Regions from separate parts of the Homo sapiens genome. Here regions 2 and 3 are each linked to region 1. Evidence: promoter capture Hi-C in human tissues and cell types (Jung and others, 2019). All regions are on one chromosome and are shown on one strand. The core of a region is centred on a gene start or on the middle of the fragment in contact, and the rest is flanking DNA. Distances in the headings are between cores, read along the strand shown.

The links. Contacts are between HindIII fragments. The study calls those that stand out against the background at their distance.
Region 2: a contact is called between a fragment that was not itself captured here and the fragment with the promoter of HSPA12B in region 1, in 1 of the 25 tissues and cell types used here (lymphoblastoid cells).
Region 3: a contact is called between a fragment that was not itself captured here and the fragment with the promoter of HSPA12B in region 1, in 1 of the 25 tissues and cell types used here (spleen).

What each region holds. Positions count from the first base shown.
Region 1 is chr20:3,729,822-3,734,653 of GRCh38, reverse strand. It overlaps HSPA12B (heat shock protein family A (Hsp70) member 12B), which reads right to left and starts at 1,969. Exons shown (of 13, transcript NM_052970.5): 1 at 1,860-1,969. RefSeq lists an enhancer at 1,328-1,907. The HindIII fragment of the contact is 12,948 bases long and covers 1-4,832 here.
Region 2 is chr20:4,085,443-4,089,684 of GRCh38, reverse strand. No RefSeq gene overlaps it. Among named protein-coding and RNA genes, the nearest start is that of SMOX, 61 kb to the left of the region's middle. The HindIII fragment of the contact is 4,410 bases long and covers 110-4,242 here.
Region 3 is chr20:4,182,523-4,187,202 of GRCh38, reverse strand. It overlaps SMOX (spermine oxidase), which reads right to left. Exons shown (of 7, transcript NM_175839.3): 5 at 4,355-4,680; 6 at 3,549-3,709. Among named protein-coding and RNA genes, the nearest start is that of LINC01433, 8.2 kb to the left of the region's middle. The HindIII fragment of the contact is 6,680 bases long and covers 1-4,680 here.

The DNA of each region.
Region 1 (4,832 bases), core at 720-3,219:
ACCCAGGGACACTTAAGGAGAGTGCTGACCACAGAACACGGGACAAGCCCAGCTCCCGAAAGCTAGGTCTGGGCAGAGTCCACAGCTGAAAATGAGGGGAGGCTGAGCCCCGCTTCAGGGGCCTACTAATTTCAGACTGGTGGTGCCTATGGGTTTGAGAGTAATTGAGTGGGACAGTTTGATTTACACAGAAAGGAACTCCATTTCCTGGCTACAAGCACATGCCAAACTCTGGCCCCAGCCTGATCCCTAACCCTGCCCATGGACTGACCCCTAACTCTTGGCTTCATATTGACCTCTAGTCATCAGCTTCACCCTGACCCCTGGCCCTGACTTCTACCCAATAGGCAGGGCCGATTAGTCACTGGGGACCAGGATAGGGTGTGGCCCAGCAGGAACTCACAACCAGAGACTCCCATCCCAGAGTATCCCCTGGTCTTACAATAGCCTAGGACGAACCCTGCCCCCACTCCCGCTCCTTTTTTTGAGACAGGGTCTTGCTCTGTTGCCTAGGCTGGAGTGCAGTGGCACGATCACGGCTCACTGCAGCCTCGACCACCTGGCCTCAAGCGATCCTCCCACTTCATCCTCCCAAAGTGCTGGGATTACAGGCGTGAGCCACCTTGCAGGGGCCCAACCCTTTGCCTGACAGAATCCTCGGAGGATCTCTTCCTGTGTGGGGTGTTTCAGCTGGGCGCTCATGTCCCCAGGAGCACTATGGGAATGCAGTGTTCTGGGTTTCAGGGCTCCACACGATGCCTGTGTAGACAAAGAGCCCACCCAGGTCATTCCAGCTCCCCTCCTCACTAGGACCCTGCCTCTTCCGCCTGCTGCTCTCTGCTCAGCACCCAGCCAGCCCTGTAATGGAACAGGACTCCGTCAGCGGGCTAAGTGAGGCCACAGGCGTTTCTTCCAAGCCACAGACTGGGCCAACCAGGGCCCAAAGCACAGATCAGAAACGGCACCCAAAGGGCTGCCCCACTCTGTTCTGGAGAGGAGCCCTTAAGAAGATGGGACCATGTGTGGCTGAGTGAGGTGGCTGCCCCATCCTGCGCTGGGGCAGGGAGTGACAGAAATGGCCTCCCATGGCCCCTCCCTGTCCTCATCTTTGCTTTCCATACATCCTGCCGCACCCCCTTGGGTCCTCATCATGGGAGCAGCCAGTTCACAAACAACAGAGCCCCTCCCATGCTCTGCCCACAGCCCCCCATTACCCCTCTGGCCTGGGATTCCTGCGCTGCGTCTGCTCTCCGGAGGGTCCCTAGTTTCGTGATCACTCCCTTCCAGTCTCTCTCATCAACACACGCTAACCTCACAGATAGGCTCCACTGCCCTAGCGGGAACCTGGACCCCACCCCACCTGGACCTCAAGCTGGCCCGGAAGACCAGGTCCCAGCCTCAGACCCTGGCACCTGGGCCACTCAGTACTCTGTTGCGCTTCGGGACCACAGGGCCTGGGACCCCTGAGGCACCCCCCAACACACACACATACACTCAACTCCCAGGTTTCCACCTCAGACCTAGGCACCGGGTCCCTCAGTTTGGCTCCCTGGAGCAGGCCCCAGCCCACACCAGTCCTGCCAGCCCCTAAGACACAGGAGTTTCTCCAGCCTAAGCCTCTGAGCAGCTGTGCGAGGGACAGGGGAGGTGGTCCCCCGAAGCCCAGGTGGGAGACCAAGGTCGCTGCCCCAAGTGCCTTCCCGAGCCCGCAGCCACGCTGCAGAGAGGGGCTTGCAGATCTGTCCCCACCAGACAAAGTCTGGAGGTTTTTGGTGGGGTCTCAGCCGACAGCCCGGGACGGCAAACCTCCTCGCCTTTCTCCACTCGGGGCGCCCGGCAGCCCCCGCCCCAGAACTCACCTCCGCCCTCCCGACAGCTCCAGCCCCGTCCAGCCGCCGCGATCCCGGGCCCGCAGCTCGTTGGCCGTGCCCGCTGCGGCGGCCGCAGCCCTCGACGTGCGCCCGGCCCTGAGGCCTCCCGCCTCCTCGCGCCGCCCACCCCGCCCGCCGCCCCCTCCCCCAGGCCGGATGGCCGCGCCGCCTGCGCCGCCGGGTCGGCCCGCGCTCCCGGCCCAGATGTGCGAGGCCGGGGCGGGGCCTGCCTGCGCGGGCCTCCGCCGAGGGGCCCAGCCTGGTCCCGCGTCCAGGGCCCCTCCCTGAGCCCCTCCTGCGCCTCCCCCGCTCCCCTAGCAGCCCAGGGGGTGGGAGAAGGGAGAGGGGGCGGCGGAGGGAGGGGAAGAGGAGTTCCAGACCCTGGTCGGCCTCCTGCGGTCCAGCTGCTGAGGGGCTCCCCCGCCCCGCCCCCACAGGCCCACCTTGGGGCTCAGCCTCGGCCCCTTCAGCGAGGGCCCAACAGCGGAGGGGGAAGGGCCCGCCCTAGACCCCTCCACTTCCCTGCCCCAGACCCCTCCAGTCCCTTGACCCGGAACCCTCTCTCCTCCCACCCCTACTGCCCCTACAGCTTCCCTAGCCCGGTCCTCAGTGGCCAGAAAAGAGGCAGAATTGCGGATGAGGGCAGGCCCTCGGGTCCCCAGGCTAGGCCTAGCTCTGTCTTTGCTCAAGTTCAGACGACGGAGGCGCGGAGTCTCACAGACTGAGGCCCCATGCCCGGCAAGGGGACCACTCCGCACCAGGGGGCACCCAGCCTCTCCTCCGAGGCACACAGCCTTTTTCTTGTCCTAACCGGGGCCCTTCTGGGGATGCTGGGACTTGGCCTCCAGACAGGGGGTTTGTGGGGTGAAGGTCTCTTTCTGGGCTGGGAACCCGTGGCTCATGCCTGTAATCCAGCGCTTTGGGAGTCTGAGGTGGGAGGATGGCTTGAAGCTGGCTGGGCAACAAAGACCAGCCTGGGCAACAAAGGGAGACCCTGTCTCTAAAAAGTTTTAAAAATTAGCCAGGTGTAGTAGCTCACGTCTGTAGTCCTAGGTACTCAGGAGGCTGGGGTGGAGGATTGCTTGAGCCCAAGAGTTTGAGGCTGCAGTAAGTGTGATCACACCACCGCACTCCAGCTTGGGTGACAGAGAGAGAACCTGTCATAAATAAATGAATGAACGGATGAATGAATGAATTTCTGCTAGGTCCCTCGTGGAGCTTTCAAAGGCAGCTGACTCGTTCTGCCTGTTCCCCTTCCCCTCTGCCCCATGTGCCCCCACAGAAGTTCCAGATGCTTCTCAGTCCACCTCCCTTTGTGCCTGGGAAGGCTGCCCGTCAGAGAAGGGCCCCACAGCCCCATCAAATGAGGCACAGTTCTTGGGACATCCCTTTTGCTCTTCCACTCCAAACCTTTGCAAGGGCTATTTTCCCTCCCTGAAATGCTCTCCTTCCTCCTCTCTGCCCAGCCAAAATGCTCCCCAGCTACAGTGTCACCTCCCTAGGCTTGCTGCCTTTCTTCTCAGAGCCACTGCCCCAGAGGGCCTCCTTAATGAGGTCAGGCATGGTGAGTGCGCTGCACCAACAATTCTGGATACCAAGCCAACATGGTATCCAATCAGCAGTCTCCACAGGCCGCCTCCCAGTGTGCGTCTATGTGTGTCCGTCTGTGCATCTGTTGGTGTGTTTGTGTCTGTGCTTAAGTGTGTCTTTGTATGTGTAAGACTTTGCTTATATGTCTGTTCATGTGTGAGTGTGTTTCTTGGATTGTCTGACTGTGTCTGTGTGTGCGCTAGTGTGTGACTGTGTTTCTGTATTACGTGTGTGTGTTGCTGCATCTTGTGTCTTTGTGTCTGTGTGTAACAGGGGTCCTTGGTTGGGGCCTGCAGGCCTGCACCTCGTTTGAGGCTGAGCAGAGCCAGGAGGGATTGGAGTGTGTGTCTGCTGTGCATGTCCTGGGGTCTGCAGGGTCTGGCCCCTCACACTCATGCCTGCCCCTTTTTTCTTTTTCCCTTCCACCTGGTTTCCCTGTCCCCAACTCCAGCTCCAAAGATGGGCTCGTCTCTGAGGGCCACGGCAGCAGGCTCTGAGCAGGGGTGAAGACTCATGGGGGGCGTATCCCCTGTCCTCAGTGCCAGCGCCCTCCAAACCTTCCTGTTTGGAAGCTCCCTCCTTCCCCCACCCCCACATTTCGGCCCCCCTCAGTCTGATGAGGGAGTCACAGACCCCACCCTTGGGCCGCATCCAGTCTGACATGAGAGAAGGATAGCAAATAGCCCCAGTGAGCCCACATTCCACACTAGAGGAAGCTCGATTCAATTGTCCAGGTGGGCATGGATGAGGGTCCTCAGAGTCCCTGCCCTCTACCTCTCTGTGCCCTCCCGTCTCCCTCCTGCTCCTCTCCAGCATGGTTGTGGGCCCACCCACTGACCTCACCAGCTTCCTGCATCTCCCTGGGTGGGGTAGCACGAGGAAGAATCAGCCTCTGAGTAGGTCCTCCCCAGGAGCAGCCTCTCCCCAGGCCCGCTGTTTTCCTCTGGACTGTGGTCAGGGATTTCCCCTCTCATGAGATGCCCTTCCTCTCAGCCCTGCCCCCAGTCCATCTCTATCTGCAACCAGAGGTGACTTTCAAAGGCACAACTCTGGGGCCATCCCATCACCACTCCTATACTCTCCGTGGCTCCCCATGACCCAGAGAAGAGCCAAGGCGTGGACTGCCCTTGGCTGACCTCCCAAACTCTTTTTCCAGCCCCTAGCCTCCAACCCCATGTCCAGCCCCTTGGGCACGTCCTGCCTTCTGTGCTTCTGAACCTTCCACCTAGGCCAGCCCCAGCCCTGAGCTGCTTGTCCACATCCATCCCTACCTCAGGCGGTTGGGGAGAAAGGGGTCCCTTAGACCCTTGTGTGGGTGCTGTGTCTGCTTGGGGAGTCCCCTGGCCCCAGGTCCCCTCCATGGGGATTTCA
Region 2 (4,242 bases), core at 1,065-3,564, 350 kb before region 1:
ATATACATATATATACACATATATATACACATATATATACATATATACACATATATACATATATACACACATATATACATATATACACACACATATATATACACATATATATACATATATATACACATATATATACACATATATATACACATATATATATACACACACACACACAAACACACACCTCCCTATATATATAAAACCATCAGATATATATATGTGTGTGTATATATGTATATGTATGTATGTATATAACATATGTCAGGTATAACATATCAGGTATGTGTGTGTATATATATATACACATATATATATATACACACACAGACACACACCATGGTGTGTGTGTATATATGTATATACATATATATATATGTCCATCCACATCCCAACCAAGCCCACCACCCTCTAGACTTTCAAGGGCTCCTGACTACCTGGACTTTCCACTGTTCTCCTTGGCCCATGAAATTGGATGTCCCTGTCCCAAGGCTGTCTGCAGTACACTCGAACTTGCTCTGCCCTTGAACTTGCTCTTGGGCATATCAGCTGCCCCTTAGGCCAGACCCTGGGCTTTCTGTATCTCAGAAATCTGCTTTTATCCCTGGACCCCACATTAGTCCCTGTTCCTGGCCTTTGGGATTTGCCGTGGTTGTGGTTGGGCCCTCCAACTGGGTGAGGGCCCAACTGCTCACTCCCAGGAGACCAGTACCCACATCCCAGCACAGAGCAGGTGAGAGCTCCCACACTCCTTTTTACCCACTCTCACGGCCTTACTGTGTGCCCTTCTGTAGCTTCTGTGACCCATTGATCTTCCTACAACCTCCCTGGCAGGATCTCTTTGCTCCTCTCCATCCCATATTCAATACCGGGTCCCTGTGGAGCGCCAGGCTCTATACTAAGGACCCTGTGTGGGTCCCCCAAGGGCAGAAACCATCTTTCCCCATCAACTCAAAGTCTCCTAGGCATAAAGGCTGGGGGTGGAGGGCTGAGGACTGACCCAGGACCTCTATTTTGCCTCCTGTAAATAAAGATATCTCAAAATACAGTAAGAAGACCAACTAAGTGGGTGAAACTCCACCAACTGACAGATAATTGTCACATCTTAACTATACATCTTTCCTCGGCAGGCAAGACACATCTAGGCCTGGTGAAGACAGAAACGCTAGTCCCCCCCCTTATTTGCAGGGGATACATTCAAGACCCCCAGTGGATGCCTGAAACCGCAGATAGTACCAAACCCTATACATACTATGGATTTTTCTATATGTACATATCCACCATAAAGTATAATGCATAAATTAAGCACAGTTAAGAGGTTAACAATAATAACTGATAATAAAATAGAACAATTATAACAACTGTTCTATTTTATTCTCAGTTATTATTGTTAATAATAATTATGTTGTGATGATGTTAAGCATCACCACTTTTGCATCCAGGGGTCGTTATTAAATGAAGTAAGGGTTACCTGAACATAAGCACTGCGATACCTCAGCAGTTGATCTGACAGCCAAGACAGCTACCAAGTGACTAATGAGCGGGAAGAATATGCAGCATGGACGTGCTGGACAGAGGGATGATTCACTCTACTCAGCATGGCAGGCAATTTAAAATGGGAGTTGCTCATTTTGTTTTTTGGTTTTCTTTTTCTTTTTCTTTTTCTTTTTTTTTTTTTTTTTGAGACTGAGTCTCACTCTGTCACCCAGGCTGGAGTGCAAGGGTGCAATCTTGGCTCACTGCAACCTCTGCCTTCCAGGTTCAAGCGATTCTCCTGCCTCAGCCTCCCAAGTAGCTGGGACTACAGGCACACACCACCATGCCCAGCTAATTTTTGTATTTTAGTAGAGAAGGGGTTTCACAATGTTGGCCAGGCTAGTCTCAAACTCCTGACCTCAAGTGATCTGCCCGTCCCAGCCTACCAAAGTACTGGGATTACAGGTGTGAGCCACCCCATCTGGCCAAAACATGAATTATTTATTTCTGGAATTTTTCCATTCAATATTTTCAATCTGTGATTGACAGCATCTAACTGAAACCGCAGAATGCAAAATTGCCAATAAGGTGGGGGACTATTGTAATTTTCTTTTTCTTTTGTGAACCACTCCCTCCCAGGGCCAAAAAGAGTCAGATCCTCTGCAGCAGGGGTCTCCAGCTCCCGCAGTACTGATCCATGGCCTGTTAGAAACTGGGCCACACAGCAGGATGTGAGCTGCAAGTGAGTGAGCATTACCGCCTGAGCTCCGCCTCCTGTCAGATCAGCAGCAGCATTAGGTTCTCATAGAAGCACGAACCCTACTGCAAACTGCGCATGTGAGGGATCTAGGTTGCACGCTCCTTATGAGAATCTGATTAATGCCTGATGATCTGAAGTCGAACAGTTTCATCCCAAAACCATCCCCTCCCCCCTACCCCGTCTGAGGAAAAATTGTCTTCCTCAAAACCAATCCCTGGTGCCAAAAAGTTTGGGGACCACTGGTCTACAAAGAATGCGCATGGATCAGGTGGGGACATGCTATGGTTTGAATGTCCCCTCCAAAACTCATGTTGGAATTTAACTCCCATTGTAGCAGGGTTGAGAGGTGGGGCCTTTAAAAGGTTGGTGAATGCCGTTATCAGTCAAATGGGTTAGTTATCCCAGGAGTGGTTTCCTGATAAAAGGATGAGTTTGGCCAGTTTTCTTTCTGTCTCACACATGTGCTTCCTCACCATGTGATATCTTCCACCATGGGATAAAGCAGCATGAAGTCTTCATCAGTCAGACACCAGCGTCATGCTCTTGGCCTTGCCAGCTTCCAGAACCGTGAGCCAAATACATTATTTTCTTTATAACTTACCCAGTCTGTGGTATTCAGTTATAGCAGCAGAAATGGACTAAGATGGAACACAAGAGAGGGAAGGAAGTGCAGAGAGAGGGGGAGAAGAGGGAATAAAACTTCCCCAGAGCTGCGGAGAGCCTACCCCATCTCTTCATCCCTGGGAATCAGGGAGGGGCTGCAGACACAGCCCCTAAGCCTGCTCTGCATGATGAGAAGCATAAAGACCTGACCCTACAGCGTAGTACCCTAAGCATGTTCCTCCTGCCTGCGATGAAAGGGGCTATCTCCCCACCCACATACAACCCATCTGCCTCAGGTGTCCACACCATGGAGGCAGAATGTCATGGGCTTGCTGTCAGACCATGTCAGATCATGCTGGGAGATAAATTCCCACCATTAACTCAGAACATGGTGGTGCTGGTTGTGGGGTCCTATGGCCAGAGCCTATGCCCTCGCTGTCCATGATAGCTGCATGGGGGGTGTAGGCTGGCACCAGCTACAGATGCCCTGAGAGCTGCTGTCCAAAGAGCTGTTCTGAAGAAGCTTTGCTGAGGGGCACAGGGCCGTGGGGGGAGAGAGAGGCAGCCGTGGGGGCGCCCCAGATGTTGCCCCATGCCCTTCCAGGGCCTGCCTGGAACTGAAGACACGAGCCCTTGTGAGAGTCAGAGGCACTCGGTCGGGCGCGGTGGCTCACGCCTGTAATCCCAGCACTTTGGGAGGCCGAGGCGGGCGGATCACGAGGTCAGGAGATCAAAACCATCCTGGTTAACACGGTGAAACCCTGTATCTACTAAAAATACAAAAAAATTAGCCGGGCGTGGTGGCGGGCGCCTGTAGTCCCAGCTACTCGGGAGACTGAGGCAGGAGAATGGCGTGAACCCAGGAGGCGGAGCTTGCAGTGAGCCGAGATCGCGCCACTGCACTCCAGCCTGGGCGACAGAGCGAGACTCCGTCTCAAAAAAAAAAAAAAAAAAAGTCAGAGGCACTCATCTGAGTTCCCACTTCAAATTGGCAGAGGTCAGGGAGGAGTCCCCACGATAGGACCTACAGGCTGGCAAAGAACGTGCAGGTGGAGGAGGCAAGACAGTGAGGTCACACCAAGGGGCCGGAGAGAGGTCATTCCATGACTGATGTTCTTGGAATCCGGAATCTGCCCTGCGTGCACAAAAATGCCCTCGGAGAGCACGGGGCTGGGGAGCTGGCAGAATCTTCACAGATGCTGAAGAGAGGCACAGCGCAGGCCCTCCCCTGAGTCTTCCCTGATGAAAAAAGGAGGCCAAGGGCAAAGCGGAGAGTGCCGGAGAGCCCTCATTCCTGTTCCCTCGCCACCTGGGGCCCGGGAACCAGACGGACCCTGCGTTAGGATGTGCCGTTGCTGCCTGACTTAAGGCTGGAAAAATACCACGCCCAAGGGTTGGCAGGGGGC
Region 3 (4,680 bases), core at 1,601-4,100, 450 kb before region 1:
CTCTCCACCAGAACCTCCCATCCCAATGACAAATTAGAGAGGCTCTGAGACGCAGGTGCTGCTGCTTCCACAGGATGAAGAGCTGCCCATCCTATCTGGCCACTTTCCCCTGCTTCTTCCCTTGGCTCTTTCTGTCTTGAGGCCATTAGGAGTCCCGGCTCTGTGGTCTCAAAGGCTCTTTGTGCCTCTTACTTGTCAACTTGAGGCAGGTGGTTTAACCTCCCTAAGCCTTGCTTTTCTCATCTTCCAAATGGGTTTATACCACCTACTTCGGAGGGTGGTTGTAAGGATTAAGGGAAATCATGTATCTAAAGCACTTAGAACCTGGAAGAACAAAGCACTCAATAAAGTCGGTGGTAATTTGACAAACCTTTACGGCGCCCCTGTTAGCATCCAGGGGCTGTTCTGGGCACTTGGAAGAGAAAAGGTGACCAGGCTGCTGCTTTGTGGAGCTTCCATGCTGGTGAGGAAGCCAGACATGAAACCCAATTACTAAACAGCGTCATATGTGATGGAATGGGTGTTTGCACAAGGCGCCGAAAGCCCAGAAAAGAGGCCCAGTGTCAGGGGATCCCACAAAGCTTCCCAGAGGACAGGACCTTTGAACTGGTTCTCGGAAGATGCTGAGTGAACGGACAGGCAAAGGACATTTCAGACAGAGGGAAAGGTGGGGGCAAAAATGTACCAAAGCAGGCCTTGCTCGGGGGACAGTGAGAATTTTGGTACAGCCAGGGCTCGGCCTTGAGAAAGCAGGCTGTCTAGGTGAGGTCTAGGCAAGGTACAAGTTCTTGCACCCCAAGTTTGCATTTGGACTTTATCCTAGTTCCTCTCAAATTCAAGGTGCAAGGCACCAGCTGTGGATCCTGATAAAATGCAGTTTTTATTTATTATTTTTGAGACAGTGTCTCACTCTATTGCCCCAGTTGGAGTGCAGTAACATGATCACAGCTCCACTGCAGCCTCAACTTCCTGGGCTCAAGCAATCCTCCCATCTAAGCCTCCTAAGTAGTTGGGACTACAGGCACACACCACCACACCTGGCTAATTTTTTTTTAAATTTTTTGTTGAGATGGAGGTCTTACTTTGTTGCCCAGGCTGGTCTTGAACTCCTGAGCTCAAGCCATCCTCCCACTTCGGCCTCCCATAGTGCTGGGATTATGGGCAGGAGCCTGCATCCCTGGCCAGAATGCAGTTTTTAATCCAGCAGGTCTGGGGTGGGCTGAGAGTCTGCATTTCTTTTTATTTATTTATTTATTTGTGTGTGTGTGTGTTTAGGGCGCCAGGGGTTGTTGTTTTTTGGTTTTTGTTTTGAGACAGGGTCTCGCTCTGTCACCCAGGCTGGAGTGCAATGGCATGATCTCAACTCACTGCAACCTCCGCCTCCCAGCTTCAAGCAATTCTCATGCCTCAGCCTCCCAAGTAGCTAGAACTACAGGTGTGCACCACCATGCCTGGCTAATTTTGTATTTTTAGTAGAGACAGGGTTTCGCCATGTTGGCCAGGCTGAGAATCTGCATTTCTTTTTATTTATTTATTTATTTGTGTGTGTGTGTGTTTAGGGCGCCAGGGGTTGTTGTTTTTTGGTTTTTGTTTTGAGACAGGGTCTCGCTCTGTCACCCAGGCTGGAGTGCAATGGCATGATCTCAACTCACTGCAACCTCCGCCTCCCAGCTTCAAGCAATTCTCATGCCTCAGCCTCCCAAGTAGCTAGAACTACAGGTGTGCACCACCATGCCTGGCTAATTTTGTATTTTTAGTAGAGACAGGGTTTCGCCATGTTGGCCAGGCTGAGAATCTGCATTTCTAACTAGCTCCCAGGTGAGGCTGGTACTGATCTACCTACCCTGAGTAGTGAGGCTGTAATCCCACCACCAAGGAGCCCACAGAGGCTGTTACACTGAAAGGGGTGTTGTATACTGTGTCAGCCTTGACCTCCTGGGCTCAAGTGATCCTCCCACCTCAGCCTCCCAAGTAGCTGGGACCACTCCCACATCCAACCATTCTCCTCTTTCTCCTCAATAACAAAGTCCTGATTTTTAACTGGGTCCATTGCCATCCAGAATAAAAATGATACTGCCCAGCCTCTGTAGCAGCTAGGTGCAGTCATGTGTCTATGTTCTGGCCAATAAGCATTAAAGTGCACTGTTGCTTAGAGACACAGCTGACTCAGCTCCAAGGGTTCCCTTCTTGCCATCTGCCTTTCCTCTTCCTTCTAGCCTAAGATGCAGATGTGAGAACTGGAGCTTCTGCAGCCCTCTTGGACCACAAGATGGTCTTGAAGATGAGAGCCAGGTGCTAATGATACGGGATCCTGCTGCCTGCCTCCAGATTTCCTTTTGATTTTCCTTGTTTAAGTCACAGTTGTGTTTGCTTTGCTTTGCTTTTTGCTACATGCACTAGTCCTAACTGATGCAAGTGAAAAGAGAAGATTTGCTTTTTAGGAGGATGGCTGTGGCAGCAGAAAGGGCCTTTCTGAGGACCTCTCTCTCTTTAAACACCAGCCCTTTTCTCTCTCCATCTGAGCACCGTTGGGCAGGCATAGTAGATGCTGGTTGACTGAACTCTTCTTCACCAATTATACCAAATAATTGTTTTAAATATAACTGTTGAGTTTTAACATTTACTGTGTGTGTCTACTTGATGGGGGAAACTCAAAATCCACTTTATGGGAGCATAAATATATATTTCAGATTTTTTTTTTTTAGTGTACAGTTGGCATATTGTGGAGCATCAGTAATCTAAACTTTATTTTCTGAAATATATTGGGAAAACATTTCCATTGAATCAGTGCTGTCCAATAGGACATTCCTATCGCTATGTACTTTACTATGGTAACCTCTAGCCACATGTGGCTGTTGAACTTGAAATGTGACTAGTGCAACCAAGGAACAAAAACTTTACTGTATTGGCCAAGTGTGGTGGCTCATTCCTATAATCCTAGCACTTCAGGAGGTTGAGGCGGGAGGACAGCTTGAGCCCAAGAGTTCAAGACCAGCCTAGCAGTATGATGAAACCCCATCTCTACCAAAAAAAAAAAAAAAGTACAAAAATTAGCTGGACATGGTGGCGTGCCGGCATGCCTGTGGTCCCAGCTAGTTGGGAGGCTGAGGTGGGAGGATCACTTGAGCCCAGGAGGTCAAGGCTGCAGTGAGCTGTGATCACACCACTATACCCCAGCCTGAAGTGTAGACAGAGCAAGACCCTGTCTCAAAAAAGAAAAAAAAAATACTGTATTAATTTAAATTTTTAATAAATTAATTTAAATTGAAAGTGGCTGATAGCTACCGTATTGGCCAGCACAGCATGGAATAGCTCAGTTTTCATAACATCAAGAAAACATTTTAAGTTTCAATTTGATTCCATTTTTTCTTCCAGATATTAAGTGCACACTTTTTTCCTTGTGTTCTCTCTCATTACAGAAGCTACTCCATCCCTGCCTCACCTGAGCACCCCTTAGTGAACACTACCCTAGCCCTCCTCACCCTGGACCGGACACACATACAAAATACACCCACAACTCCCCTCCTCACCCCAAACGCCCCGCTTACCGCTGTCTTTGAGCTCTCTGTGTACGGCAGGGGCTTGGCCAGCTTCTCCACATCCGCCCCGCTGGAGCCCACCTGCGTGTATGAATAGGAGCCGCGGAAGTAAGGGTTGCTGCCCCAGGCCGAGCGCAAGATTCGCCGAGGTTTTGGAATGTTGGGGTTCCCTGATGGAGAGTCAGAAAAGCCAAGAGGAGGGAGGATAAGAAATGGCTGCATATGGAAGATGACCCCAAAGGGACAACCCCCCACCCCACCTCCAGGGCTCCGGGAGGACCAGACTGCCAGGGGTAGGCACGGAGGATAGAAGAGGAAGGAGGGAGGCTGGGGCTCGAGCTGTGTACCCACTCAGCGCCTCCTGTGACCCCCGGCAAAACGCTCCACCTTACTTTTCCTATCTATCTGAAAACACATGACACATAATCATGTTTCCCCGCCTAATATCGGGGGTTCTCGTGAGGTCCTCCTGGAATAGTGGGTGAAAAATGTTGAGCTGAAAGACTCAGAGAGTAAAAGGCAAATCCAGCTCTTAGCAACAGAGCACAATGGGCGGTGATCTCTGAGTGTTTTACCATCAGCCTTTAGAAAGGGGGAAGAGACACAGCGCCCATAATTCTGAGTGTGTCAAGTTCTAAACTGTCAGCAACTGAAGAGCCTTTGGCTGAATGTGGCACCCTGCAGTGGCTCTCCCGTGGGGCACAGCATCCGAGCTTCACGGTCTGGGGAGGAGAGAGCTGCCATGGGTCCACCAGAGGAGGGCAGGTGAGGAAGAAGCAGGGTGGGGGAAGCGGGTCGTGGGGCACGTGGCGCACCTGTGAACTGACGCAGCATCTCCGTGCAGATCTCGGCCACTGCCTCGTCATCACACTTCTCCATGACGAGGGCCTCCTCCCCGCAGATCCAGCCGCTCAGCACATGGCCGTAGCGCTCAGGCGGGTAGAGGACATCAAAGCCGCAGATCTTGCGGTACCAGAGCTCAGGTGGGTAGGTGAGGGTGTGGCTCTCTGCTTCGTCCTCCCACACAAACTGTAGGCTGTTGCACTCAGGGCCCCAGAAGGGCTCCTCGAATTCCAGAAAGATCTTGTCGGTGGTGCCAATGCCCAGGCGGTGGATGGCAGCCACCTTCTCTGTGGGCAGG